Linked DNA regions of Homo sapiens: all the other regions are linked to region 4. The links are contacts of gene promoters, found by promoter capture Hi-C in blood cells and fetal thymus (Javierre and others, 2016). All regions are on one chromosome and are shown on one strand. Each heading gives the region's core, a stretch centred on a gene start or on the middle of the fragment in contact. The rest is flanking DNA. Distances are from core to core; before and after follow the strand shown.

Region 1 (3,495 bases), core at 510-3,009, 380 kb before region 4:
ATGTGATTTAAGCATAATTAAAAGGTTATACTTGAGGGATAGACCTGAATCTGGAAGACAACTGCTAATTTTCTGGGGCACTGAGGGGTTTTTGTTTTGTTTTGTTTTTTGAGACAGGGTCTTGCTGTCACCCAGTCTGTAGTGCAGTGGTGCCATCTCAGCTCACTGCAACTTCGACCTCCTGGGCTCAAGTGATCCTCCCACCTCAGCCTCCTGAGTAGCTGGGACTATAGGCTCGTGCCAACATGCCTGGCTAATTTTTGTATTTTTTGTAGAGATGGGGTTTCGCCCTGTTGCCCAGGTTGGTCTCTAAACTCCTGGGCTCAAGCAATCCATCCACCTTGGCCTCCCAAAATGTTGGGACTACAGGTGTGAGCCACCACGCCCGGCCAACACTGTTTTTATGAAGGTCTGTTCCTAGAAATGGAAACCATTAAAAACAATGGCAAGAAGACCCTTTGGTTGAGGAATGACAAGATCCAAGAGGAAAACTGGTGTGCCATGGCGCCTTCCAGGCAGAGCAGGTGTTCAGGGCAGAGGCCTGGGCGGGTAGACGGGCTGCAGTTCTGGAGTGAAGACGGTGGAGGCTGCATTCTTTTCTGGCTTTCTGTTGGGATTGGCCTGGGTATGTCCTTTGACATAGCCTGTCACAGGGAATGACCGAAAAGATTAAAGGTACCTGTTCCTCTTCAGGGGCTCTGTTCAACGTAGTAGCCACTAGCTGTATGTTGTTATTTATACTTAAATTAATTAAAGTTAGGAATTATGTTCCTGAAGCATGCAAACCACATGTCTAGTGCTCAGTAGCCATGTGTGGCTAGTGGCCATTGTATTGGGCCATGCATATAGAACATTCCCATCATTGCAGAAAGCTCATCGGGACAGAGCTTCTCTAGAGGATTCTGTGCATTTAGTGAGTGTGATAACCCCATGACTTCTGACATGAAAAATTAGGGAAAATTAAAAGAAGCAGAGGGAGGCAGGGAGTTGGGGAGAGAGACAGTGTGGAGGAGGGGGAGAAGGAGAGATGAGAGGGGGAAATGGGTAGGAGAAGGAGAAAATAGGGAAGGGGGTGCGGAGAGTGAGGAAGAGACTGAGGAAGGGGAGGGGGCTGCACCATGGAGGAGGGGTGAAGGCAGGGGTTGGGAGTTGGGACTGACTCACCTAAGAGGAAATTCAGGTCAGGGACAATCATGGATGGTGGCGGGGGTGGAGGGGGTTAAGCTACCATATCCTCCCCCACCCCCTTTTTCAATATCTTGTTGGGAAATTTGCCTAAATTGAGCAACTGACTTTCCTGATTCAAATTAAGTGCATGATATAGATACATACAGAGCCCCATGTTCCTTCTTGAAATTCTTAATGTGGGGCTATTTTAAAGCAGTCATTTTATTTAAAAAAACAATTAAGTTGCATAAGTGCGGCAGATCTACAGAAAGAATAGAAAGAAACCTCCACAGGCAGGTGATCTAAAATGGGGGTGAAGACAGGCAAAACCATTTTAAGGGTTTTCATTTTTTCTGAGCTGGGAAGACATCAGGAAGAAGGTATACTTAAAGATGCCAAAGAAACTCACTGTTCTTGTATCCACTTGAAAATGGTTTTCTCCTTAAAAACTGTTTCTTGTGAGATTTGAAACATTTTAACAATAACTCAGAGCACACTTAGAAAGAAAGTGTTTGAAACAATAAAACAGTTCATTGCTTGTTCCCTGGTGTCCGAAGCAAGGGAGTCTATCTGACGTACCAGAGTCAACTGGTGACATCCTCCTAAACTAGGCCAGTTTTGATAGGGCCTACTGTGTTTCTAAGAACTTGTAATCTGTGGAATATCAAAAATTTTTTTAAAAAGGTAATGATGAAATGAACCCCAAGGACAGCTTCTGGGGCCTGTGCAGAAAGCAAGGGTAAACAGATAAGCTGAGATAAACAGATAAGAACATGCCTCTGTCCTGAAGTGGCAGAGGCCACAGGGCCACTGGTGCCTCGGCTTCCCTGAGCCTTCTCAGCTGATCTGCTGCCCTGTCCTCTGTTTCCGGCATAGAGGTTACCCTTGGTTTAACGGATGGGGAAACTGAGATGAAAGAAAGGGAGTCAGGGCCGGGTGCAGTGGCTCACGCCTGTAATCCCAGCATTTTGGGAGGCTGAGGCAGGAGGATTGCTTGAGGCCAGGAGTTCAAGACCAGCGTGGGCAGCATAGCAAGACCCCTATCTCTACAAAAAATAAAAAATAAATAAAAATGGCCAGGCGTGGTGGCTCACGCCTGTAATCCCAGCACTTTGGGAGGCCAAGGTGTGTGGATCACTTGCGGTCAGGAGTTCAAGATCAGCCTGACCACCGTGGTGAAAACCCATCTCTACTAAAAATACAAAATTACCTGGATGTGGTGGTGGGTGCCTATAATAATCCCAGCTACTTGGGAGACTGAGGCAGGAGAATTGTTTGAACCTGGGAGTGCCACTGCACTCCAGCCTGGGTAACAGCGAAACTCCGTCTAAAAGGTAAAATAATAATTTAAAAAAAAACATAAAAATAAAAAAAGGGAGTCACTTGTTCAAGGTCACTTGAACTGTGGACTTTTGGGGAGCAATTGCAAGTGGATCTCCCCTATCCTCCAAAGTGCTTTTATGTTCCAAAATAAATCTTTCTTCCTTCCTCTCATAATATATGCCAAAACAACAAACTCTTCTCGAGATGGTAGGGTTTTTAAGTGTAAATACCCATGAGGTTGTAATTGTGGAAGAGAAAGAGTGTCTTTGTCAGATTCCCTGGGAAAAGGGGCAAATTGGGAATATAATTTCTGTCTCAGACCGTGATTTCAGCTGAGGGCCAGTTTGAGAGCAGTTGGGTAAATTAATTCCTACTAGGTTGTAAATGACTGATAGGTGAATCCTCAAAGTAGATGTTTCCATTTTAAAAGTAGAACTGTGTATCAATACAACTGAATCTGTGTTTGAGGACAAGGCAGGATGCCTACATGCCATACATAAGTGCCTGTACACACATAAGCACATGTGTACGTATGTGGTATGATCGCCTGTGGAGGCCCATTACCTGTACTCTCTCGCTGCCTGGGCCCCTCCTACCAACACATCGGACAAGCGAGGCCAGCCTCTTGCGTTATTTTTCCCCTCAGCATGGCTAGTGGCCAACGAATTGCCCCCAAGGGACTGGATGTGAAGCCCCATGGGTGGTGGTGGTGGGGACAGTCATGGGAGTTTAGGTGTGGGCCACATCATTGGCAGCAGCACCACCTCCTTTCCTTGGCAGAGGCAAGAGGTGGGCAGCGGGCATGCCAGTTCCTGCTGGCTCACCACACATAGCTCCCATCTGCCCTGCACCCTGCTTCCCTGGCCGCTTACTGCTCCTTAGGAGGTTCTCGCCCTCAGTTACCTCTGCCTGACAGTGGTACCTTATGTGCAGGCTCAGGTTTCTGCAGCTCTCTTTACTTACTACCCAAGTAGGGGGTTAGAGAGGGGGAGGCGAGGAGGGTTT
Region 2 (3,749 bases), core at 563-3,062, 360 kb before region 4:
TCCATGCTGTTCTCGTGATAGTAAGTCTCACAAGATCTGATGGTTATTATAAAGGGGAGTTTCCCTGCACAAGCTCTCTTTGCCTGCTGCCATCCATGTAAGACGTGACTTGCTCCTACTTGTCTCCCACCATGATTATGAGGCTTCCCCAGCCATGTGAAACTGAAAGTCCAATGAAACCTCTTTCTTTTGTAAATTGCCCAGTCCTGGGTATGTCTTTATCAGCAGTGTGAAAAGAGACTAATACACTAGCACAAATAAATGATAAACATTTGAGATGACAGATATGCTAATTACCCTGATCTGATCACTGTACATCATATGAATTGCAACATCACCATGTACCCCATAAATACGTAGTTATGTGTCAGCTAAAAGATAAAAAACTATAATATTTGCACCCAGGTGATGCTGCAGGGCAGTCAGGAGATGTGGCTGGCTCTGGGGAAAGGTGTCAGCTTGGTCTGGGCCTCCCTCAGTGGCCAAATGGCCAGTGTGAAGTCTTGGAGGGTGAAGGGCTCCTCCATGCCAGAGGCAAGCACCTGGCAGTAGCTTTGAAGAAATGTGGGAGCAGACGGTGTCTGTTGTTTTTCTGGCCCACATCTACCCCCTCTTCTTCTGGCAACAGCACCTCCATTTTTCTTGGGGGACCACTCCTCCCTGTATTTAATCCACAAGGTTGGGTGGAGATGATGTCTCATTGGTTCCATCAGTGAGCACATGACTCAGCCCTGGCTGTGCAGAGCCTTGATTCTCTGCTTGGCCTCAGGGATGGGGATGGGATTCTTGGTTCCAAAAGGGCTGCTCTTCTGCTGCTGGGGTTGCCAAGCTGGTGGAGGGAAACTTGGAGCTCTTGGTGGCCGTTGCCACAGCCTATCTGAGAATAAAGGCGGCATAGCACGATGTTGAATCAAAGGCTGATGGGGTGGGGGAGAGAGAGAGAGTCCTCATTGCATTGTTTCATTTTGGTGTCCAGCCATTCTGGGGGCCAGATGTACCCCCCTGGTTTCCTGTTTGGGTGAACGTGTGACTTGCCACTTACAGTCAAAGGATCCTGACTCATTCAGGGTTAAAAGTCACATCCTTAGGGGATACCTGCCTTAAAGAACCCAAGACAGCAGGCCAGAGACATGGGGCCTGGGTCAGGAGGAGCCAGCCCCCTGAGTCAAGGAAGGCTGGATGTGCACCTTTGTCCCAGGCTTTGCTTGAGCAGAGGGCCAGGTGTATTTGATATTTGCCACAAAGAATACAATCCTTAACCTGGCTGCCCTTGTGAGACTCCAACTGTAGCAAAGAAAGATTAGGAAACAAACATCCCAGTCACCATGGAAATGTGAACCCAAGGTGTTAGGAACAATAGCTGTGTGAGTCCGGAAGTGGATTCTGTCCACACACATGTTGGTTTGATCCCCCATCTATTTCCTTGTGGGGGCCTGGGCATATCTGTGAACGTATGATATAGCCAGCTGCTCTAGGGCTGGGTGCCACCTCCCATTAGCCTTGGTTTCATCATCACCAAAATAGCTGTAAACCTAATACACTGCTTATGCATGTCAGAACCTCCTTACAGCCTCCCTCGGAGGTAAATATTATTTTTATCTTAATTCCACAGATGAGAAAACAGAAGCTCAGGGAGGTTCCTAAACTTTCCCAAGGTCACAGTTGTTGATGGAAGAGCCAGGGTTTGAACCCAGCCCGTTGAGTCTGTGCTTTTTTAACCACCACGTTCCTCACGTTGGTGTTGACAAAAAATATTACTAAAAGTAGTTCATTCTTACTCTACATGTCTTATTTCAATTCTGCCACAAACCTATGAGGCAAGTACAACTGGTTAATTCCATCTTATAAACGAGGAAGCTGAGGCACAGAAGACTTAGGAATCTTGCCCAAGTTCCACCGTCAGTAGGAGGCAAAAGTACATTTGGGGGTTACTTTTTTCAGGTGGATTTGAAATGATAATGTGTCTTAAATTTAATTTGGAAGCCAAGAATGGGTGATAACTGTAATTTTTTCTTTTCTTTTCTCCTTCCCCTCCCCTCCTTTTCTTTTCTATTCTTTTCTTTTCTCCCTCCCCTTTTTTCTTTTCTTTTCTTTCTTCTTTTCTTTTCTTATTATTTTTTGAGACAGAGTCTTGCTCTGTCACCCAGGCTGGAGTGCAGTGGCACGATCTCGGCTCACTGCAACCTCTGCCTCCTGGGTTCAAGTGATTGTCCTGCCTCAGCCTCCCGAATACCTGGGATTATAGGTGCACGCCTTGTATTTTTAGTAGAGACAGCATTTCACCATGTTAGCCAGGCTGGTCTCGAACTCCTGACCTCAGGTGATCAGCCTGCCTCGGCCTCCCAAAGTGCTGAGATTACAGACATGAGCTACCACGCCCGGCCTAATTAATTAATTTTTTTGAGATGGAGTCTCACTCTGTTGCCCAGGCTGGAGTGCAGTGACACCATCTCAGCTCACTGCAACCTCTGCCTTCCCAGGCTTGGGTGATCCTCCCACCTCAGCCTTCTGAGTAGCTGGGACTAGAGGTGCACACCACCAGGACTGGCTAATTTTTTTTTATTTTTTTTATTTTTGTAGAGACGGTTTCACCATGTTGCCCAGGCTGGGATAAGTGTAATTTCTAAATCTGGCTTTCATCAGTGGTGATGTTCTTCATGTGTAGATTTATACTAGGGAAACAAATCAGGAGGGGGAACAAGGTGGACAGAGAATAATAGCAACTTGATTTGCCTATTATCCCTGGAAAACCATATCCTGGAACTCACTAGCATGTAAGTAATTGGAAAATGTTAAAGCAAAAGAGCCAGGTTTAGAAACAAAATCACACCATCAAGTCTATGTAAATGAGTTCCTCGGTGAAGAGAAAAGCAAATGCACTGCTGTTTGTGGGCTGGCTGGCTGTGTCCCAAGTGCTGCAGAGTGGGAGTCTGGGACCAGTTGTTTTTTCATTGAGGGCCCCTTACAAGGCACACTCGGGTTGTTCAGACTCCATGAAGCTCATGAATTGGCTCAATAACAAAAAGCATGAATCATTTGAACGTGAAGGTACAGGGACATCTGTTTGAGTAATTTCTGACAGTTTTTTTTTCCTTTTTGAAAATGTGTTATATTTAGGATTTACTTGAGAAATAAGGTGGACTTGGGGACTGACAGCCCATCAGTTTCATGGGAACAGGGCCTGTGTCTTTTTATTGCTCTTTTTGTGTATGTCTGTAGACAATAGGTGCTCAATAAGTACTTTGTGTAAATGGTGACTTTAGGAGCACCTGGATTCTGCCCCAGGAGATTCCTGAGGGGCTGGCAGGTAACCAAAGGCTAATGGAGGTTTACAGCCAAGTTCCAGATGGTTCAGGGGCCCGAACCCCTGGGTGGAGCCTCTCTTGGGCCATATACCCATTCCCATGCCTGGCTGTCCCCCATCCCTTAGACCGTGGCTGCTGCTGCTGGACTGTGTTCTCTTGTGCAGATATTAACGGTGCCAAATAGTGCCAGGGCCCAGGTTGCAGTGGGCTCCTTATTGTCCTGTAATCTCAGCACTTTGGGAGGCCGAGGCAGGCTGATCACCTGAGGTCAGGAGTTCTTATTGTCTAGCCCAGAGGTTGCAAACTGACCTACACACTATTTTTTTTTTCTTTTTTTTGAGACGGAGTCTCGCTGTCTCTCCCAGGCTGGAGTGCAGTGGCGCGATCTCGGCTCACTGCAAGCTCCGCCTCCCGGGTTCACGCCATTCTCCTGCCTCAGCCTCC
Region 3 (3,460 bases), core at 681-3,180, 330 kb after region 4:
TGCTAGTGAAATCATTTATGGTGCATCCGCATAACGGAGTACCCTACAGCTGTTGAATGAATGATGCAGTGTCAGAGATACCCGTCTCTAAGGTACATTTACATGAAGAGAGCAGAGTTCATTACTGTGTGCATAGTAGAGCACACACACAGAGAAAAACATGTAAGTGCTATGCATACATAAGACATCGCTTCAAAGAGAGCAAGTTTCCACAGTTGCGCTGAGAGGAGAATTCTATGTTTGGGACAGCAGTGGGAGGAAGATATTTCATCGTATGCTTGACTATAGCTTTGGAATTTTGTATACCATATGTGTATTTTCTGTTAATTAATAGAATGATTTAGGTGTGGAAGCCTAAGATTTTATAGCCTAAACTGATGCATGATTTAAATACAAAATAACTAACTTGTAAAAAGTTGAGTGGCTCTTAGATTGCTTTAGATGATGTGGTTTCTTTATAATTTTCATATTCTCATTTCAGTTCTTCTATCACTAGATTGATTAATGTGCTTGTCTGTTTCCTTTTAAAGCTTATGTGTACAGTTGATGACCTGAAGGAAATGGGGATACCCCTTGGACCCAGAAAGAAGATAGCTAACTTTGTAGAACATAAAGCAGCCAAACTGGTAAAGTTCACCTCTGACTCAAGAAAAACTAAAACTCATGGTGTGACCAGCTCGTTTATATTATAGAAAATTTTAATACTACTATGGTTAGGTAAGCTAGTTTGCTCCCTACCTAGGGCACAGTAATGGAGCTGATGGAAACCCAGACTTAGGAGTCAGAGTTGGGCTTAAGTCCACATTAGGCTAAGTGACCATCCTGGTTTTCCTGGGACTAAGTTCCTAGGATGAAGGGCTTTCAGTTTTAAAATGGATATTTAAGGTTTTCCTGGTGCAAACAGTGGTTAAGTTCTGACAAATAAATTCTCAGCTCAACTGCTCATTAACTGCGTATTAATGAGCAATTTGTATTTGGTTTTATTCATTTGTTTATTTTGAGATGGGATCTTGCTGTGTTTCCCACTGCTGGTCTCAAACTCCTGGGCTCAAGCTATCCTCCCGCCTCAGCCTTCTGATCATGAGTGATTTTCTTAATTTTTCTGATCCTTTGTTTTCTTCATTTCTAAAATGGAATAATACCTTCCTTACAGGATTGGAGTAAGCATGAAATAATGCATGCAAAGCTTAGCACCAAGTAATAGCTCACTTTCTTCCCAGTCCTTACCATCTAAAGAGATGAGGAAAAACATACACACTGAAGTCTTAAACACTAAACAGCAAAAATTGTTAACAATACAAAACAAGGCAACAGCTAAAAAGCATTTAAAACTAGAACAACTGGAAAATATACTTGTTTTATTAATTTTAATTTATTGATCAAATTAATTTTACAGAGGTTTTCTAATTAGAAAAATTAGATGACTCTTAGGGTGGCCGTCTTATTTGTATTGTTATTAACATGCTCTTTGATGATCCTTCCATCTTTTGAATTTCTATGGTTCTATTATTTTACTACCTGTTTGGAACTTAACCTACATCATTTCTTTATATGGGAAATGACTATAAAGTCATAGGACTGATTTTTTTTTTAATGGTTAGCTTAAGGAATTGAGTCTTCTCAGCATTTTATTGAATAGCAGCTACCTCTTTTGAGTCAGGCACTGTGTTCAATTCTTGGGAGCCGGAGATTAACCAAGAGTGTGCTGTCTAGTTGCGGGGAGCACGTTGAGCTCAAATGACAACATACCAGCCCCATAATAGCGTGCTGTGTGTGCTGTCCTGAGGCAGATGAGAGGTGGCAGTTCTGGCTTGTTGAGACAAGCATGGGGTTGGTGAGAGAAGACTTCTCCAAGGTGATGGTGCTTGAGCTTGAAGGAGGGGTAAGGTCAGGGGAGATGGCCTTCTGGAATCTGGCATGTGTTTTCCTGTAGCATCAGGGAAGCTGGAAACTGGGAAGGGCAGAGGGTTCCAAAGGCCCAGGTGGCAGGTGTGGAGGCTTGGATTTTCTCTTGTAAGGGAGTGGTTTTCAAACATGTTCTTATGGCCATGAAAGTCATGGTGTTTTTAAACATTACAAAATGCTGACCTGCTTATTCTATCACAAGTTATGATTTAGCACCAAATCATCTGTGTAGTCTAAATTTTAATTTTAACTTTTGGACTGTGGAGAGTTTGCTTGGTCACAGTGCACAGATGAAGTTGGAAAGGCGTGAAGTGGAGGCGGCTGCAATCTTACATAGTAGTAATTGTAATTGTACAGTGACTGAAAGAGAGATGATAGGGGTATAAGGTAGGAGGTGGAGAGGAAGGGAGCAACTCAAAAGACATTTTAGACATAGACAAGCAGTATTTGATTAAGTGCTGAGAAAGGTTATTAGTTTTGGCAGTTAAGAGGTATCTTTCATGTCATTTTTCTTGTGTGTTGAATCGTTCTGTAATTCCAATTTACAAAGAGCTTTTCATCTCACCTGAGCCTCACAACAACCCTGTGAGTAGATCCCCAGGCTTTTGTCTCTGATGAGCACAATAGTCAAACTGAGACTAGGACACAAGCATGTCAGTGTTGTTTCTGTATACAGGCTGCGTGCTCCATACAGAAAAATGCTTGTCTCCGTGTATACATCAGTGAAGCAAAAGCCTATAAAAAAAAAAACAAAAAAAACAAGAAATGAGAAGCTTTGTGTTCAGGCCCTACACCATGTTCTTAATTTATTCTGTAATGAAAGGGAAAAAAGTAGAAAAGGATTCTATAGTTCTTGAAGAATTTCTAGAAGGAGACTGGTTTATGGACTGCAGTTGCTTAGATATATAAATTATGGCATTATAAGAATGTTTTGAAATGAGCAAAAATCTATAGAGTGATCTTATTTTTTAAATTAAAAGGTAATTGCCTTTGGATGAACCATGAAACTTTCTCAGCTGAGTTGCCATTGATTGCTTTACACTTCTTACAGATAACAAGGTGCTACTAGATCAATACAAAAGTAATATGGTGTGTCCTGTTGATTTACTGTAACTGAAATAATGGGACCAAAATTAGCGATTATTTTATAACAAGGAGATCAAATATTTGTGATATTTGTGACTGTGTGCTTTTTTTTTCTTTTTAAAGCATCTTAGTAATTTTCATTTGAAAAGGAATTGTTTCTAGTGTTGGGGATATTGATAGTCAAGTATGTATATGTTGGTTCCGTTTTTTTTTTTTTGAAAGGGAGTCTTGCTTTGTCTCCCAGGCTGGAGTGCAGTGGCACGATCTCGGCTCACTGCAACCTCTGCCTCCCAGGTTCAAGCCATTCTCCTGCTTCAGCCTCCCAACTAGCTGGGATTATAGGCGTCTGCCACCACACCCAGCTAATTTTTGTATTTTTAGTAGAGATGGGGTTTCACCATGTTGGTCAGGCTGGTCTCAATCTCCTGACCTCAGGTGATCCACCTGCCTTGCCCTCCCAAAGTGCTGG
Region 4 (3,913 bases), core at 258-2,757:
CAGAGAAAAGGAGTGCCACACTATTCAGAAAGGAATGCAAATGCTGAGTCATCACTCTTCATTGGAAAGGAAGGAAACCAGAATTAAGTGGTTGGAAGATGGAATTCATTCATTAGATTGAGCTTCAGGTAAAAAGCAACAGCAAGACAGGAGAAAAAGCGTTCAGAAGACACACATCAAATAGCGGATGAAGACATAATTTTAGCCAACTCTGAAGCTTTCGACGCACAAACAGATTAGGAAGAGGCAACACCTAGAGAGCAAAAGGAGTTTAACAACTGGTTGTCAGTTTAGCGTAGGGAGCGCTCAAAGTAAACTTCTTTATCCAAGAAGGGAAAGATGCTCGGGCAGCAAAAGGTATCCCTTATGTACTTCAAAAGTAGCGGGCGCTAGGCGGGTGTTTCTGACAGCGTGGGCGGGGGCACGTGGGGCATAAAGAGAGAAGGGGCTTGAGTGGTGAAAGAGTGTCCTGCTTCCTCCGAGAGCTTAGCTGGGGAGAAGAGCTGGGAGCGACTCGAGCTGAGGACGTGGAAGGGGTGAGTGCTAATTCCTCAGGGCCCGCGGGGCCCACCCCCGGGCCCACCCCCAATCCTACCCCCGCCAGGCCCTTCCCCCGTGGGCGCCGGCAGCTCCAGGCCCAGCCCAGGGCGTCCAACGCGGAGGGGGTGCAGGAGTTCTCCTGGGCCTGACAGCCTCAGCCGTGCAGAAACCCGGCCTAGGGAGGGCATGCAAAGAAGGACGCCAGAGAAAAAGGTCGAGACAAGCCCCAGACCCCAGGAAGTGACTGTTTGGGGGAAGGGAGGATTTCCTTCCCAAGGAAAAGGGGACAGATGAGGAATGCACTTCGCGTCCACGCCGCCCTGGTCAGGGAGCCGCCTAGAGTCCCGGCTTCGGCCCAGTCTCTCCTGCTCCCTCCCTTAGCGTCCCGCGGTGCCCGGGCCTCTTGGCGCCTGGCACCCCTCGTCTCGGGTACTCACAGAGTCCGGGGCTGCCCGTCGTCTTCCATCATGGTGGGTGCGACGGAGCGATCCCGGGACAAGGGGGAGGGCAGGGTTGGGGAGGGGAGGGGGTGGGGAGGAAGGGGAGGGGGGCTCTGGGCACCGGCTGGGGACAGAGGAAAAGGCACCGAACCCTGCTCTCGGGCTCTCTCCCCCCAGCCCGCTCCGGACACTGCGCTCCAACCAGGAGGAGCAGGAGGAGGAGGAGGATGAACAAAATGGCCGCCGCCACCAGCCAGGCAGGAAACAGGGCAGAGCGCAGGCGCGACCCGCCAGGTCACCGCTCAGGCCAGCCGCGACAGCCTGCAAGGGGGACGACCGAGGGGAGAGAAAAAAGGGCCGCCGAGGAAACCCTGGGACCCGCTCACGACGGATCACGTCGTCGCTGTGGGCCTCTGGCCGGCCGAAGCCCAGCCAGCTCCGGGAGAGATCGGGCAAAAAGAGAAACGTCGTGAAGCCGAAGTCTCTGGGAATTGTGGTCCTGGAAATGAGAGAGGGAAGCACTTCTGCAGAGGACTTCTGGAACCTGTGGTTAAGAGGAGCCGCCGGCGCCCACCCGCGCTGGGACGTGAAGAGGAGACTTCTGGGTAGTGTAGTCATACGTGAGGACGTGCGACGACCAGGAAGTCGGCGGGCTGGGAGGTAAAGGGAAGAATAAAAGCGACATTGAAAGGCGGGGAGACCAAGTGGGGAAAAGCGCTGTCTGGGAAAGCGAACTACAAGTCCCAGAGTTCCTCGCGCCGGGGGCTGTCCTCGGACTGCTCCAGGCATTGTAAGGCTCTTCTGTTGGCCCAGTCTGAGCTGCTGCTCCGCCTTCGTCCAGCCCGAGAGCGGTTTCTTCAACTGTGGCTCAGGCAGCACTCTCCCTCCGCGTGGTGTCCGAGCCAGCAGGGCCGTCCGGCCCTCCTGTGTTCATCAGAACGGCTGGCTCGCGTTAGTCAACCGCCGCTTCGCGCGACAGTCAGAAGAGAGGCTGTGCTGGCGGGGACCCGGAGGGGTTGGGGTGTTTTGGGGACTCGATTTCCCACAAATAGGTATTTCTAGCCTATTTGTTAAATACAAGTAGGTGGCCTGCTTGTAAATTGCTTTACAAGTTTCAGAGGTTTCCCTATCAAATGTCTCATCGGATAGTGGGGTAAGAAGAGGAGCCCTATTATAATGACTTGCCCAACTCCCCCCGTATTCTTGGAGTTAAAAGAAAAAAAAATCCTTGGGCAGAGACGTGCACAAACATAAAGTTGCGTTTACAGACATCAGTCATGTGGGCTAGAAACGCAGTTTTGCATGAAGATAGGGGAAGCCATGTTCATACTAGCTCTGCATCCCTGTAGAATTTGTCTTCTCACCCCCCACAACAGTTCCTGGTGTGCTTTTTTCCTCCTCTAAGTACCTTCAGGAGAAAGTACTTGGTCTTGTAGCTTAGTGAAGAGTGGCGATGAAGAAAGATCTTTCAGCCCATTGCCAGAACTTAACTGCCCCGGTTAGTAATGGCTTAAGAGTTGCTTCTGCCGACATGTACTAAGTGCATGTCGACCTCTGCAAGTGGCGGTGCGTATGCGTGCCACTGAACATTAATCTTGAAAGCAGAATCAACCATGCAGCAAGCCCTTATGTTGTCCATTTTCAGGGGAGGAAATTTCAACCTGAAAGACTTCATAGAGACACGGCAAAGGAGTTGAGCCCCATAAGAGTCCGTAGGAACAACAAAAGGCTCAGACGCCAGGACCCATGGCTAAAATGTATGGGCTGGGGATGCGGGCGGGAGCGGGGGGAAGGGAACTAAAGCTAGAGAGGACCTTGTAGAACCGTGTTGTCAAGAATCTATTTCATGCTGAGGAATTTGAGCTTTCTCTTCCAGGCAGTGAGGAGCCACTCAAAGGTTTTGTCTATGTTTTTAATTGGACCTAGGTGTAGAACTGGATTTAATTATAATCCAATTCATTAACCCATGCCTGGCCCGCTGTGATAGTTTCCTGTTGATGCTGTAACAAATTACTGCAAATTTAGATACTTAAAACAACACGAATTTATTTTCTTACAATTCTGGAAGTCAGAAGTCCAAAATCAGTTACACTGGGCTAAAATCAAGGTGTCGGCAGGGCTGGTTCCTTGCCTTTTCCAGCTTCTAGAGGCTGCCTGCATTCCTTGGCTCTTGGCCCCATCCTCCATCTTCAAGAAAAGAAGCATAGTATCTTCTTTCTTCTCTGCCTCTGTACGTACATCGTGATTCTCCTGCCACCCCTTTTCATTTACGAGAACCTTTTGTGATTACTTTGGGCGAAGATTATCTCAAGATTCTTAATCACATCTGCAAAGTCCCTTTTAGCATAACATTCCCAAATTCTGGGAATTAGGACATAGAAATCTTTGGTGGACCATTATTCAGTTTACCGCACCCACCTTTATTACTTTAGTTTTGATTATAGCCACAAACCCACCACACTAAAAAGTTATAATGACACGAGTTTATATCTGTATCTATGCTATACCTCCTACACACAATAACACACACCCCTGCCTTCGCTTGGGGTAACCATCTTTCTGAATCCTGTCTTTACTATTTATTGCTTTCCTTCTACAAGGTTTTATTCCACATGTACATAGTCCTAAAAATCATATGTATATACATGTATATTTGAGTTTTTTTTTAACTTAGTAAAAAGAATATGCCCACTACAAACTAGAATGGTTAAAATGGGCATGTTTACTGGCAGTGAAATTATTAAGGTTAAAATCCAAAACACTAACACCACCAAGTGCTGGTGAGTATGAAAAGCAACAGGAACTATCATTCTTTGCTGGTAGGACTGCAAAATGTTATAGCCCCTTTGGAGGACAGCTTGTCAGTTCCTTACAAAACTAAACATAATGCCTAGGTACTTACCCAAATGAGCTGAAAACATGTTTACATAAAA
Region 5 (3,781 bases), core at 676-3,175, 480 kb before region 4:
AGTGCTGGGATTATAGGCGTGAGCCACCGCACCCTGCCTTGCAGGGTTTTAGTCGTGATTTTTTTTTTTTTTTTCTGGTTGTTGTCTTTTTTTTAGCGACACGGTCTTGCTCTTTTGCCTAGCTTGGAGTGCAGTGGCATGATCATAGCTCACTGTAACCTTGAACTCCTGGGCTGAAGCAGTCCTCTCACCTCAGCCTCCCAAGTAGTTAGGACTACAGGTGTGTGCCACTGCTCCTGGCTAATTAAAAAATATATATATATTTTGTAGAAAGGTGGTCTTACTATGTTGCCCAGGCTGGTCTTGAACTCCTGGGGTCAAGTGATCCTCTGCCTTGGCTTTTCAAAGCGCTGAGATTACAAACGTGAGCCACTGCACCTAGCCCTTTAAAAAAAAAAATGTTGTTACTAGATAGAATTATAATTCTAGGTGTCATGTTACCGTCAGGCTTTTCCCTAATACAGAGATTTTTGGGGGCACTGAGGGTGAAGGGAATTGTTTTTGTTTTATAAGCCTAATAAATGGTAGGCTTTTGGCTATTTTTGTGCGTGAATGTATATACACACACCAAAAGAAGCAAAAAAAAAAAAAGAGAAAAACTCTATCATAAGACTATCTTCTCATTACCTAAGGGTTTCAGTTAGATTATATCTTGGCTAAATGAGATTTCACCATTTTTGCAACCAGCCAGAATAAAAAAGCTTCCTACTCTCATAAGAACCAGGTGAATGTCTCACTGTGGATAAACAGTTGTCTGCTAATGTGGCACTTACACAAAGGGAGATTATTATTGCCAGAAAAGACGCTATCCAGAAGCCATAAACTAAAAACACTACAGAGGTATTTTTGAACAAACATTGGACTCCCATTTCATTTGGTTGAGTCAGGGTTATGTTGCTCAACTGAATTCACTGGGAAATATTCTGGAGTCCAAAAGGCAAGGTTGCTTCAGACCCCACTTCCTGCCCAGAAGGAGGCCCAGAGGGTTTCTCAGCTTGTGCAGTGCGTGGCATTGTAGTATCCTGGATTTCTTCTCCCGTCACAGTGCAAGAGAAGTGAGGACTCGGAGCTACTGCCAGCCGCCTCCTCTGCTTCCTGCCCCTTCATGCAGCACTATGCTCACTCTTGCATGTATGCACATCCAAGTATTTGCACACACACACACACACACACACACAGGTCTGTGTGTACATGCACACACTCATAGGCAAAGACTTCTTTTCTTCATGACAGTTTAACATGGAGTTGCCTCCCTCCATTTCTGGTGAGGAGCAGGCAGGCGTGCCTTCCACACACAGCTTGCTGCTCACAGTGGCAGCAGAAGCCCGCAGGAGGGAACCTCATTCCCTATGTGGCTGCAGGTTCACTGCTGTGGTCCTCTTCAGCCTCTAGTCGCTTGCTGCTAGTGGCCCTGCTAGAGAACCGGGGTTTCATGCACACTTGCAGTCAGCTGTACAGGCCTCGATGTGTGGCAGCCTATGGATGTCTATCTGAACAAGGTGCTTGGGGTCGCACTGTGGGCTTTTCCTGTGGAGTGGTTTTGGGGGGATTTCCCCCTCTGTTTTATCTCTCCTGGCCCAGGGTTGTCATGTAGGAAGTCATCTTATCCTACCAACCTTATGTTTCTCTTCTCTATTACTGTGTATTGTTTCTATTTTATAATTTTTTTTTTTTTGAGATAGAGTTTCACTCTGTCACCCAGGCTGGAATGCAGTGGCGCCACCTCGGCTCACTACCACCTCCAACTCATGGGTTTAAGTGATTCTTGTGCTGCAGCCTCCCAAGTAGTGGGAATTACAGGTGCACACCACCACACCTGGCTAATTTTTATATTTTTAGTAGAGACGGGGTTTCACCATGTTCACCAGGCTTGTCTGGAACTCCTGGCCTAAAGTGAGCCTCTTGCCTCGGCCTCCTAGAGTGTAGAGATTATAAGCATGAGCCACAGTGCTTGGCCTCTATTTTAGAAAGCTAATGGCATTTTGGTTTTTTGTTGTTGGTAGTAATAAAGCACATTTAGAAACACAGGAGAATATGCAGTGAAAACTGAGCTGCCGCCTCCTCCTGTTCCCAGACTCCAGTTCTACCTCCTGATCCCCACCCCACACAACTCCCGTGACCTCCTTCTTTATATCCTATCAGAGAAGTTTTTCTCCCTGTGTGAGCCTGTGTGTGAGTTCCTGGGTTTGAATGTATTTTACATGTGTGAAAGCTCACCACATTCATTGTTCTCTACTTTTTTTCCGTCAAGTTGTGAATTGAATTGGTAATTTTTTTTTTTTTTTTTTTTTTTGAGACGGAGTCTCGCTCTGTCGCCCAGGCTGGAGTGCAGTGGCGGGATCTCGGCTCACTGCAAGCTCCGCCTCCCGGGTTCACGCCATTCTCCTGCCTCAGCCTCCCAAGTAGCTGGGACGACAGGCGCCCGCCACTACGCCCGGCTAATTTTTTTTGTATTTTTAGTAGAGACGGGGTTTCACCGTTTTAGCCGGGATGGTCTCGATCTCCTGACCTCGTGATCCGCCCGCCTCGGCCTCCCAAAGTGCTGGAATTGGTAATTTTTAAAAAAACACTGATGATTGACAAAAGTTGGCAAGCAGTTAAAACACTTGCTTTTTTCATTTAGTCTATGATAAATATAATTTTCAAGTGATCTTTTTTTTTTTTTTTTTGAGACGGAATCTCGCTCTGTTGCCCAGGCTGGAGTGCAGTGGTGTGATCTTGACTCACTGCAACCTCCTCTTCCTGGGTTCAAGCAATTCTTCTGCCTCAGCCTCCCAAGTAGCTGGGATTACAGGTGTGAGCCACCAGGCCCAGCTAATTTTTATATTTTTAGTAGAGACAGCGTTTCACCGTGTTGCCCGGGCTGGTCTCTAACTCCTGGCCTCAAGTGATCCGCCCACCTTGGCCTCCCAAAGTGCCGTGATTACAGGCATGAGTCACTGTGCCCGGCCCTCAAGTGATCTGTCTTAAATATGTTTTATTTTCTTCCCGATTTTCTATCCCACCAGCTCCTGAAAGGCCCAAATAGACCCAGTCATGTTTCTCAAGCAAAATTTAATTTTAGTTGCTCACAGGAAGAGATTTCAAGGGGAAGAGACGGATTCCACATGTGAGCTATAAATGCAGCCAGTTTCCTGTCAGCATTTTCTAGAAGCTTTAACTTGACGATGAATGTCTAATGTGCATTTATCACCAGAAACCTAAAGGAGTTTTGATTTCTTAATTATCTAAATATAGCTACCTCTGGGAACTCATTTAATAATAAGTATGGGTTCTACAACTAATTACTGGTTTCTCTGTGAACAGTGCGTAAAACTCCTTTCTCGTCAAAGGAAATCTCAGTGATAAAACAGAGTTGTATGACTGAGAACCCCAGTTGTGAATGTAAGACACAGGATAAGTGCACAACATTCTTGAGAATCCTGGGACCTCAGGAAGTTCGTACTTCATTCTCCTGCCTTAGTACAACAAGGGGCTCCCAGATGTAAGGAGATGGCTGAGTCCAAAGAATTGTTGAAGGTCTCTCAAGCTTTTTCTTTTCTTTCTTTCTTTCTTTTTTTTTTTTTTTTTTTTTGAGACAGAATCTTGCTCTGTTGACCAGGCTGGAATGCAGTGGTGCAATCTCGGCTCATTGTAACCTCTGCCTCCCTGGTTCAAGCGACAATCCTGCCTCAGCCTCCTGAGTAGCTGGGATTACAGGCATGTACTGCCACACCTGGCTAATTTTTTTTTTTTTTTGGTATTTTTAGTAGAGGTGAGGTTTTGCCATGTTGGCCAGGCT
Region 6 (3,573 bases), core at 270-2,769, 330 kb before region 4:
CTCCAAGTATTAAAACCTAGTTGAGGCCAGGCGCAGTGGCTCATGCCTGTAATCCCAGCACTTTGGGAAGCTGAGATGGGCTGATCACGATGTCAGAAGATCGAGACCGTACTGGCTAACATGGTGAAACCCCATCTCTACTTAAAAAATACAAAAAAATTAGCCGGGCGTGGTGGCGGGCGCCTGTATAGTCCCAGCTACTCAGGAGACTGAGGGAGGAGAATGGCATGAACCCAGGAGGGAGAGCTTGCAGTGAGCTGAGATCGTGCCACTGCACTCCAGCCTGGGTGACAGAGCAAGACTCCGTCTCAAAATAATAATAATAATAATAAAACAAAATAAAAAAATAAAACCTTGTTGATAACTAATTGTGGGTCTTTTCCTTTTCCCTGACACACATTCTGCAAGAGAAGACAGATGGCAGGCAGGAGGCAGATTGGAGAGAGGTTCTCAGCATGACTTTTCTCAAATGTGATGCTCCTCAAGAGAGTCTATATTTGTTATCAAAATGAGCCACGTGCTTGCATGCCACCTTGAATGCTCTCCATTGACATTTGCAACTTGTTTCTGTGTAATTTTGCAGCCTGGTTCTGCTCAGTTCCAGCAAGGTGACTGTCATTAGGCAGATCTCTTTCCATTACAGGTGACAGAAGCTCAACTCCAACTAGCTTAAGCAAAACAAATAAACAAAAACCTCCAGGGCATTTGTTGGCACATGTGCTTGGGAAGTTGAGTCCTGGGTGGGGCTCAAGTCCTACCATCTGGTGTTTGTCCTTCTCTGTTTCCTGCCTCCTGCTTCCTACAGCTCTTGGCTCTGCTGCTTTCTGAGTGTTGGCCTCTCTCTCCTACTACCGCTCATCCTTCTCCCCATGACGATAAAGATGGCCAGTGGCTGTGTGTCCTTAAAGTTAGCTATCCCTCAGCAAGAAAGACCACCTCTCCCAGCAGCTGTATGTCAAACATCATCAAGGCATGATTCTCATCGGGGCTTGGGTTTTGTGTACACATCTGAAATTGATCGTCATGGACAGGGGTTCACGTTCTGTGCTTCGTGAGATCTGAGTCCTGTGTGGGTAGCAGGGCCCTGATCAGCAGCCTGGCATTGTAAGTGGGGTAGGACTATTCTTCAGCAGTGGGAGGGACCCTGGGTGGACTAAAACCACACTTACCCACTACATGCCCTGCCCACTCCCTTTTCCTCCTGGCCAGGGTGCCCTGAGTAGCCTTGGCATGACGTGCCTCACTGTCATCTGACCAATGAGAATCATTTGTTCAGAAAACTAAGGTCCATAGAGCAAGGCACAGACCTGTCCCTGGGAGCTCAGTGTCCTGTTGGGAAGGCCGACTCAGAGACAGCTTTCATTCTTTTGTGTTACTCCGTGCTGAGCTGGTTGGGGCTCACAGCGGCCTCTTTGGACAGGCAGCAGCCTTGCCTCATCTTAACCTGTATTGCCAGGAACCCAGCAGCCTTCCCACATGAATCAAGTTCATGTTTGTTATCTCAAAGTGCTCCCCACCAGCCTTTAATTTTGGGGGCCTGCTCAGGTGCTGGACTCTGTCCTCCTTGCTTTCTGTTCGTTAGTTTTTATCTTGTTAATTCCTTTCTGAGTCAGGTATTACCAGCCTCTTTTACAGATGGGGAAACTGAGGCTCAGGGTAGAGAAAGCCTTTGCTGAGGCCCCCCCGCAGGTGAGTGGCAGATCAAGGATGTTGACCTAAAGTTGGTGCTATGGGCCTAATGTTTTTGTGCCCACACAATTCATTTGTTGAAGCCCTAACCCCCAGTGTGAGGTGGGGCCTCTGGGAGGTGAGTCGGTTAAGATGAGGTCATGAGGATGGGGCCTCCATGATGGGATTAGTGCCTTTAGAAGAAGAAGAAGAGAGACCAGAGCTCGCTCTCTCTACCACATGAGGACGCAGTAAGAAGGTGGCCTGCACTGAGGAACCAAATGGGCCAGCACCTAGATATTGGACTTCCTAACTTTTAGACTCACGGGCAATGAATTCCTGCTGTTTCAGCCACCCAGTCTATGGCAGCCTGAGCTGATCAGTACAGTCGGAGTTCTCAACCTCCATTGGAGTGAGTGCCTGGGCTCCACTGTACTAAAAGCAAGTAGTCCTCCTCTGGAAGGGCGTATGCATATTTCCAGGCATTTTGGAGCCTCCAGGGAAACCCTGGGCCCTGCAGGTTCTTGTCCAGAACCACTGGCCACACGCCCTCTCAGCCGCACTCAATGCCAGGAGACCTCTATGGCTGCTCAGGAGTGGGTCCCTGCCTGGGGCTGAAGTCCGGGCCCTGGGATCTGCGTTGGGTCCTGCTGTCATGGACTGAGCTGCCTCGGTTCCCTCTTTGGGCCCCACTAACAGAGAGGTTCTCTGAGGACCCCCATCCCTTCAGCTGAACCTAAGGCTACCAGGAGACAGAGGGCATCTGTGGCCTCCCCCAGAAGGCTGTCCTGAGGTTGTGCCCATTGTCTTGGGGAGTTTACTGGAGGAAGCTGCAGGCCTGGACTGTGCAGTCTGATTTCTTTACCTATTTTAGGAACGATGCTGGCTGGATGGGCGCGAAGGCTCACACCTGTAATCGCAGCACTTTGGGAGGCCGAGGTGGGCAGATCACCTGAGGTCAGGAGTTCGAGACCAGCCTGGCCAACATGGTGAAACCCAGTATCTATAAAAACACAAGCATTAGCCAGGCATGATGGTGCTCATGCTTGTAATCCCAGCTACTCGGGAGGCTGAGACGGGAGAACGCTTGAACCCAGGAGGTGGAGGTTGCAGTGAGCAGTGAGCCGAGATGGCGCCGCTGCACTCCAGCCTGGGCAACAGAGCTAGACTCCGTCTCAAAAAAAAAAAGAAATGATGCTGGTTGTTATCAAGAAGAGCCCTTCCCAAACACCCAGCTACCTTCCAATGGGCTTTTCCTTCCCTTCATAACTTGGGTGTTTTCAAGGGTGAGGAAGTTTAAGTAGTGAAGCCGGTGGGGCTGGCCAAGGGAACCCGCTGTCTAATCCTGTGGCTGGAGGAGGAAGCGGGGAAGGTGGATTCTTCATGGAGTCAAGGAGGCTTTCACTGCTTTTTCTTATTGCTTCTGCTGATTTCCCACTAGGCTTGGATTTGGCCATTTGCTGGGGTTGGGTGGGTGGGGGGGAAGAGTTTTTTTTTTTTTTTTATGGAGACAGGGTCTTGCTCTGTTGCCCAGGCTGGAGTGCAGTGCTGTGATCACAGCCCACTGCAGCCTTGAACTCCTGGGCTCAAGTGATTCTTCTGCCTCAGCCTCCTGAGTAGCTAGCACTGCAGGCGTGTGCCACCATGCCCAGTTAATTAAAAAATTATTTTTGTAGGGCTGGGAGCGGTGACTCATGCCTGTAATCCCAGCACTTTGGGAGGCCGAGGTGCGCGGATCACCTGAGGTCGGGAGTTCTAACCAGCCTGACCAACATGGAGAAACCCCATCTCTACTAAAAATACAAAAATTAGCCAGGCATGGTGGCGGGCGCCTGTAATCTCAGCTACTCAGGATGCTGAGGAAGGAGAATTGCTTGAACCTGCGAGGCGGAGGTTGCAGCGAGC
Region 7 (3,736 bases), core at 960-3,459, 310 kb before region 4:
TCTGATGGCTCTGGTCAGCTGTCATTCGTCCTCCCATCTCTCAGCCTTTGTAGGATAGTTGATACCTGTTTTATTCTTTTATTGTTATTTTAGGGGTCTCAGCATGGAAATATATTGGTGTATAAGTACCTGTTCCAGTCCTTGTTTTCACTTCTCTTGGGACTATACCTAGAATTGGAATTGCTAGATGCTATGGTAATTCCGTGTTTAATTTTTTGAGGCACTGCCAAATTATTTTTCTCCCAGAATGCTTTGGAGGCAATGACTTCCTGTTTCCTTCCTTCCTTCCTTCCCTCCCTCCCTCCTTTTCTTTTTTTTTTTTTTTTGAGACAGAGTCTCACTCTGTCACCCAGGCCAGAGTGCCGTGGCCCAATCCCAGCTCACTGCAACCTCTGCCTCCCGGGTTCAAGCAATTCTCCTTCCTCACCCTCCTGAGTAGCTGGGATTACAGGCGTGCGCCACCACGCCCAGCTAATTTTTGTATTTTTAGTAGAGACGGGGTTTCATCATTTTAGTCAGGCTGGTCTCAGACTGCTGACCTCATGATCCACACGCCTTGGCCTCCCAAAGTACTGGGATTACAGGCATGAACCACCACGCCCATCTGATTTCCCGTTTTCTGCAGGGTAAAGCCTCAGGGCCGGCCCATTGCTTTCAGGACTTTTCTCACTCTGTCCCCAGCACAAGGATCTTCTCCATCTAGATGGATTTGCCACCATGTGCTGCCTCCATGCTTGGGCTGGGTCATTCTGCTCACATGGACACCTCTTCACCTTCCTCTCAGGGACTCTGCACATGCTGCCTTCACTGCCTCCTTGGGAAAAAATTGCTCCTCCCGGCTGCTCCCAAAGCAGTTCTTGTGGGTCTGGCCAGGGACCCCCCTAACCCTACTTTACTAACTACCCTGGGTTGGCAGTCTCTGCCCCGAGCTCTCCTGTTCCTCTCCCCTGCTCTTGAGCTCCCATTAGGTGTCGAGCACCCAGAAGTGGTGATGGCTCGTTCATTTTGGCCATGTCTGTGCACGGCTCACCCCTGGTGCTTGTATGCGGATGCTTGTGACCACACAGCCTGTATTTGAGCCACTGTTCTGTAATCAGCCTCTCCTGTGGTGGCATCTTCTTCACAGGGAGGGATCTGGCCGACCTCGGGTCTTAGCACGGCTGAGCCTTTGAAGCTGGCAGGTTGCCCTGGGTTCCCGGGGTGGTGGTTGGCCGCCTCTTCTCTTGGGCCCCTGCCCATTTGGAAGCGTGCCCTTGAGCACTGCCATCCCCGAGCCAGGCCATCAAGTCATCCGATCCCCCGAGGTGGCTGAGAAGCTGGCTGAATGTCCCTGCTGTGAACCAGTGATGGAGAACCAGGCTGCTACTTAGCTTTGTAGATGGATTCGGTAAAGACTAAATCTCTTATTTCTAAGACGTGATCTCATTGCACAGACAACAGCCTGAGTGGCCTGTCACCCAAGCAGAAATCCTGGAGACATCTGTTGAGCCTATCCTGTTTCTCATTGCCATTGGTGACCTCCCTCCTGGGCATCTGTCCCTTGCCCTCCCCTCCTTGGTCTGCGTCTCTTGCTCTGCTGGCCACTGTCGCTTTCTGTGTGATCTCCCCATGCCAGTGTGCCCTGCTGTGATTTGCCTTTTCACACAGCACCTCTTCCTTGAGTTCGGACCCAAGCTGCACTCTCCAAACCACTGACTTCACTTGCTCCTCCCCCCACTCACATTTTGGGGCCCTAAATTACTTTAGTATCGTGAGTGAGCACTGGGCTGTCTCTTTCACAGTCTAGATTTGCACAAACCTTTCTCTGAGCCTGGACCATTCTCCCAGGTCTTCACCAGGCCAGTTCCTCCTGGAGCTCCAGACTGCAGCAGAGCTGTCTCTTGCTGGGATGGGAGACACTTCTCTGGCCCCAGTGCTGCTGTTCCCCCTGCTAGTTTTCCCCCTTTCCTTGGCAGCCCGTCTCACCAGGCTGTCTTGTAACAGTCTGTTTTCCTTGTCTGTCTCCCTCACCAACCTGATGTGTCTGCACTGCTGTGTCCTCAGCTCCTAGACCAGGGTCGGGTTCCGGCTGGGGCAGGAGAGGCGTGTGCTGCGGCCCTGGATGGGCTCATGGGCAGATGGACTATCGAGCAGATGGATCAAGGCCCCCTGTGGGTCCAGGTTTCTCCCCAGAGCCTGAAGGGTTGGCCCCGGTGGTCTGTGACAGCTTCCTGCTCTGGTGGTCAGCAGCTGGGCACAGAACTACCTGGAGTGGAGGTGAGATCCCAGGAGTTGTCAGGAGAGTCCAGGGTTGGCGGGGGCCCCAGAGGCTTCCGGGAGGCTTCTAGAAGCTCTTGAGCGCTTTCTCCTGCCCAACATGAATGTCTTGTCTTAAAGGTGAGGCCTTGTGAGAAAGCAGGACTAGGTGAGGCCGGAGGAGTGACAGTCGCCCAGTTGATGCTGTGGAGTTCTCCAGGCTGCTGGCCCATCCAGTCCCTCCTCTAGGCCCTGAGTTACTGTGTCACTGGGGCCTGGTCCTGCTGCAGAGTTGGGGCACATCTCAGGGCCTTTCAGAGCTGATAAGGGGCCTGGCCTGCTTTCAGTTTTTTGGTTTTGTTTTGAGGCTTCCAGTTCATTAAAACAATTAAAATGCCCTAAGAAAGCTATAAATATTAATATTATGGTATTTTAAACTGGTAACCTTTGTCAGGATGGTGTTTTTTTTTTAAACCAAAAACAACATAGCAATATAATTAGTCTAGTCACAAGGTAATGCTAGGATTTATAGGAAATATTAATTCATAGTGTGCTCAGTCTGGGTGGACCTGTGATGGGACGGGAGTGTCCTCCAGCCCTGCAGCTCAACATGGTCACATTTGGAGATGAGATGAAGTATTTGACTTTGAGGCTTCTGTGAAAATGAATCCACACCCCATTCCCACCTCGTCCCCTAACCTGCACCCCTCCAAGCCCTGCAAGTCCTTCTTCTAGGCTGGGAAATGAGGACATAGGAGTGAGGCTGCAGGGAAGGAGTGAGACATACACGTTCCTGAGGCCTTGAGTTCCAGGCTTCAGGAACGCCTGCCCGTGCCCGGGCTCTGTATTCCCTGGCCAGTGCTGATGGTGTCTCTGGCAAAAATGCAAGTACCCTTGGAGGCTAGGCCTTGGGGTGGAGCTAGCTCAGACACCTGCCCTCTGGGAACATTGCCTTCTTCTGCTTTCTAATGCTGATGGCTTCCCTGAGATCCCAGAGTCATCAAGGGTCACCCTGCAGATGGGACCATGAGCCCCACTCCCCAAAATGTGGCTTGCTCAAGGTCACATAGGTAGTAGCAAAGCTGAGACGTGAGCCTGGCCCTTCAAAGCCTAAATTGGGGATAACTCTGGCAAGAGAATGTTTCAAGGTTCATCTTTGTGTCCCCAGAGCCTGGCATGTCATAGGGAGATAGAAAGTATCTGTTGAATGAGCAAGAGCAGCCAACATGGATCGAGAGCCAGGAACTGTGGTAACTGCACATCTGTCTGATCTCATTGATTCCTCCCCAGCTCTGGGCAGTGTACTTCGGTACTCGGATCCCCTGTGGGCAGATGAGGAGGAAGCTGGGTACAGGTAGGAAATGAAACCTGCCCAACATCAAACAACCAGTCAAGGAAGCTGAGGTTTGGGCCCAGATGGTGTATGTCAGAGCCACTGTCTAGGCCAGCGCTGTCCAGTGGAAATAAACGTGAGCCTCTTATGAAGTAGAAAAAATTCTAG

The links. The method cuts DNA at HindIII sites, captures the fragments that hold promoters and counts their contacts. A CHiCAGO score of 5 or more calls a contact.
Region 1: a fragment that was not itself captured here is called in contact with the fragment with the promoter of TIAL1 in region 4 in 9 of 17 cell types (non-activated CD4 T cells, naive CD4 T cells, activated CD4 T cells and 6 more); the score reaches 19.7 in non-activated CD4 T cells.
Region 2: a contact is called between a fragment that was not itself captured here and the fragment with the promoter of TIAL1 in region 4, in 2 of 17 cell types (naive CD4 T cells and naive CD8 T cells). The highest score is 7.9, in naive CD4 T cells.
Region 3: a fragment that was not itself captured here is called in contact with the fragment with the promoter of TIAL1 in region 4 in 1 of 17 cell types (total B cells); the score reaches 5.6 in total B cells.
Region 5: a fragment that was not itself captured here is called in contact with the fragment with the promoter of TIAL1 in region 4 in 10 of 17 cell types (activated CD4 T cells, non-activated CD4 T cells, endothelial precursors and 7 more); the score reaches 13.4 in activated CD4 T cells.
Region 6: a contact is called between a fragment that was not itself captured here and the fragment with the promoter of TIAL1 in region 4, in 7 of 17 cell types (activated CD4 T cells, naive CD4 T cells, total CD8 T cells and 4 more). The highest score is 10.6, in activated CD4 T cells.
Region 7: a fragment that was not itself captured here is called in contact with the fragment with the promoter of TIAL1 in region 4 in 1 of 17 cell types (naive CD4 T cells); the score reaches 6.2 in naive CD4 T cells.

What each region holds. Positions count from the first base shown.
Region 1 is chr10:119,214,430-119,217,924 of GRCh38, forward strand. The region is part of intron 1 of GRK5 (G protein-coupled receptor kinase 5); the gene reads left to right. Among named protein-coding and RNA genes, the nearest start is that of GRK5-IT1, 7.8 kb to the left of the region's middle. The HindIII fragment of the contact is 8,317 bases long and covers 1-3,495 here.
Region 2 is chr10:119,232,591-119,236,339 of GRCh38, forward strand. All of the region lies in intron 1 of GRK5 (G protein-coupled receptor kinase 5), which reads left to right. Among named protein-coding and RNA genes, the nearest start is that of GRK5-IT1, 26 kb to the left of the region's middle. RefSeq lists enhancers at 1-21, 2,984-3,043. The HindIII fragment of the contact is 9,362 bases long and covers 1-3,749 here.
Region 3 is chr10:119,920,359-119,923,818 of GRCh38, forward strand. SEC23IP (SEC23 interacting protein) reads left to right here. Exons shown (of 19, transcript NM_007190.4): 12 at 531-626. Among named protein-coding and RNA genes, the nearest start is that of SEC23IP, 29 kb to the left of the region's middle. RefSeq lists an enhancer at 1,467-1,636. The HindIII fragment of the contact is 1,492 bases long and covers 1,185-2,676 here.
Region 4 is chr10:119,595,457-119,599,369 of GRCh38, forward strand. It overlaps TIAL1 (TIA1 cytotoxic granule associated RNA binding protein like 1), which reads right to left and starts at 1,508. Exons shown (of 12, transcript NM_003252.4): 1 at 978-1,508. The coding sequence starts at 1,009. LOC105378512 (a long non-coding RNA gene) reads left to right here and starts at 108. Exons shown (of 2, transcript XR_946358.3): 1 at 108-536; 2 at 1,158-3,913. RefSeq lists silencers at 521-620, 1,031-1,140 and enhancers at 739-1,737, 1,151-1,740, 1,738-2,735, 2,631-2,720. The HindIII fragment of the contact is 6,118 bases long and covers 216-3,913 here.
Region 5 is chr10:119,113,113-119,116,893 of GRCh38, forward strand. All of the region lies in intron 3 of DENND10 (DENN domain containing 10), which reads left to right. Among named protein-coding and RNA genes, the nearest start is that of DENND10, 11 kb to the left of the region's middle. The HindIII fragment of the contact is 2,453 bases long and covers 700-3,152 here.
Region 6 is chr10:119,263,618-119,267,190 of GRCh38, forward strand. The region is part of intron 1 of GRK5 (G protein-coupled receptor kinase 5); the gene reads left to right. Among named protein-coding and RNA genes, the nearest start is that of GRK5-IT1, 57 kb to the left of the region's middle. The HindIII fragment of the contact is 6,203 bases long and covers 1-3,573 here.
Region 7 is chr10:119,280,472-119,284,207 of GRCh38, forward strand. All of the region lies in intron 1 of GRK5 (G protein-coupled receptor kinase 5), which reads left to right. Among named protein-coding and RNA genes, the nearest start is that of GRK5-AS1, 57 kb to the right of the region's middle. RefSeq lists an enhancer at 623-1,123. The HindIII fragment of the contact is 8,364 bases long and covers 1-3,736 here.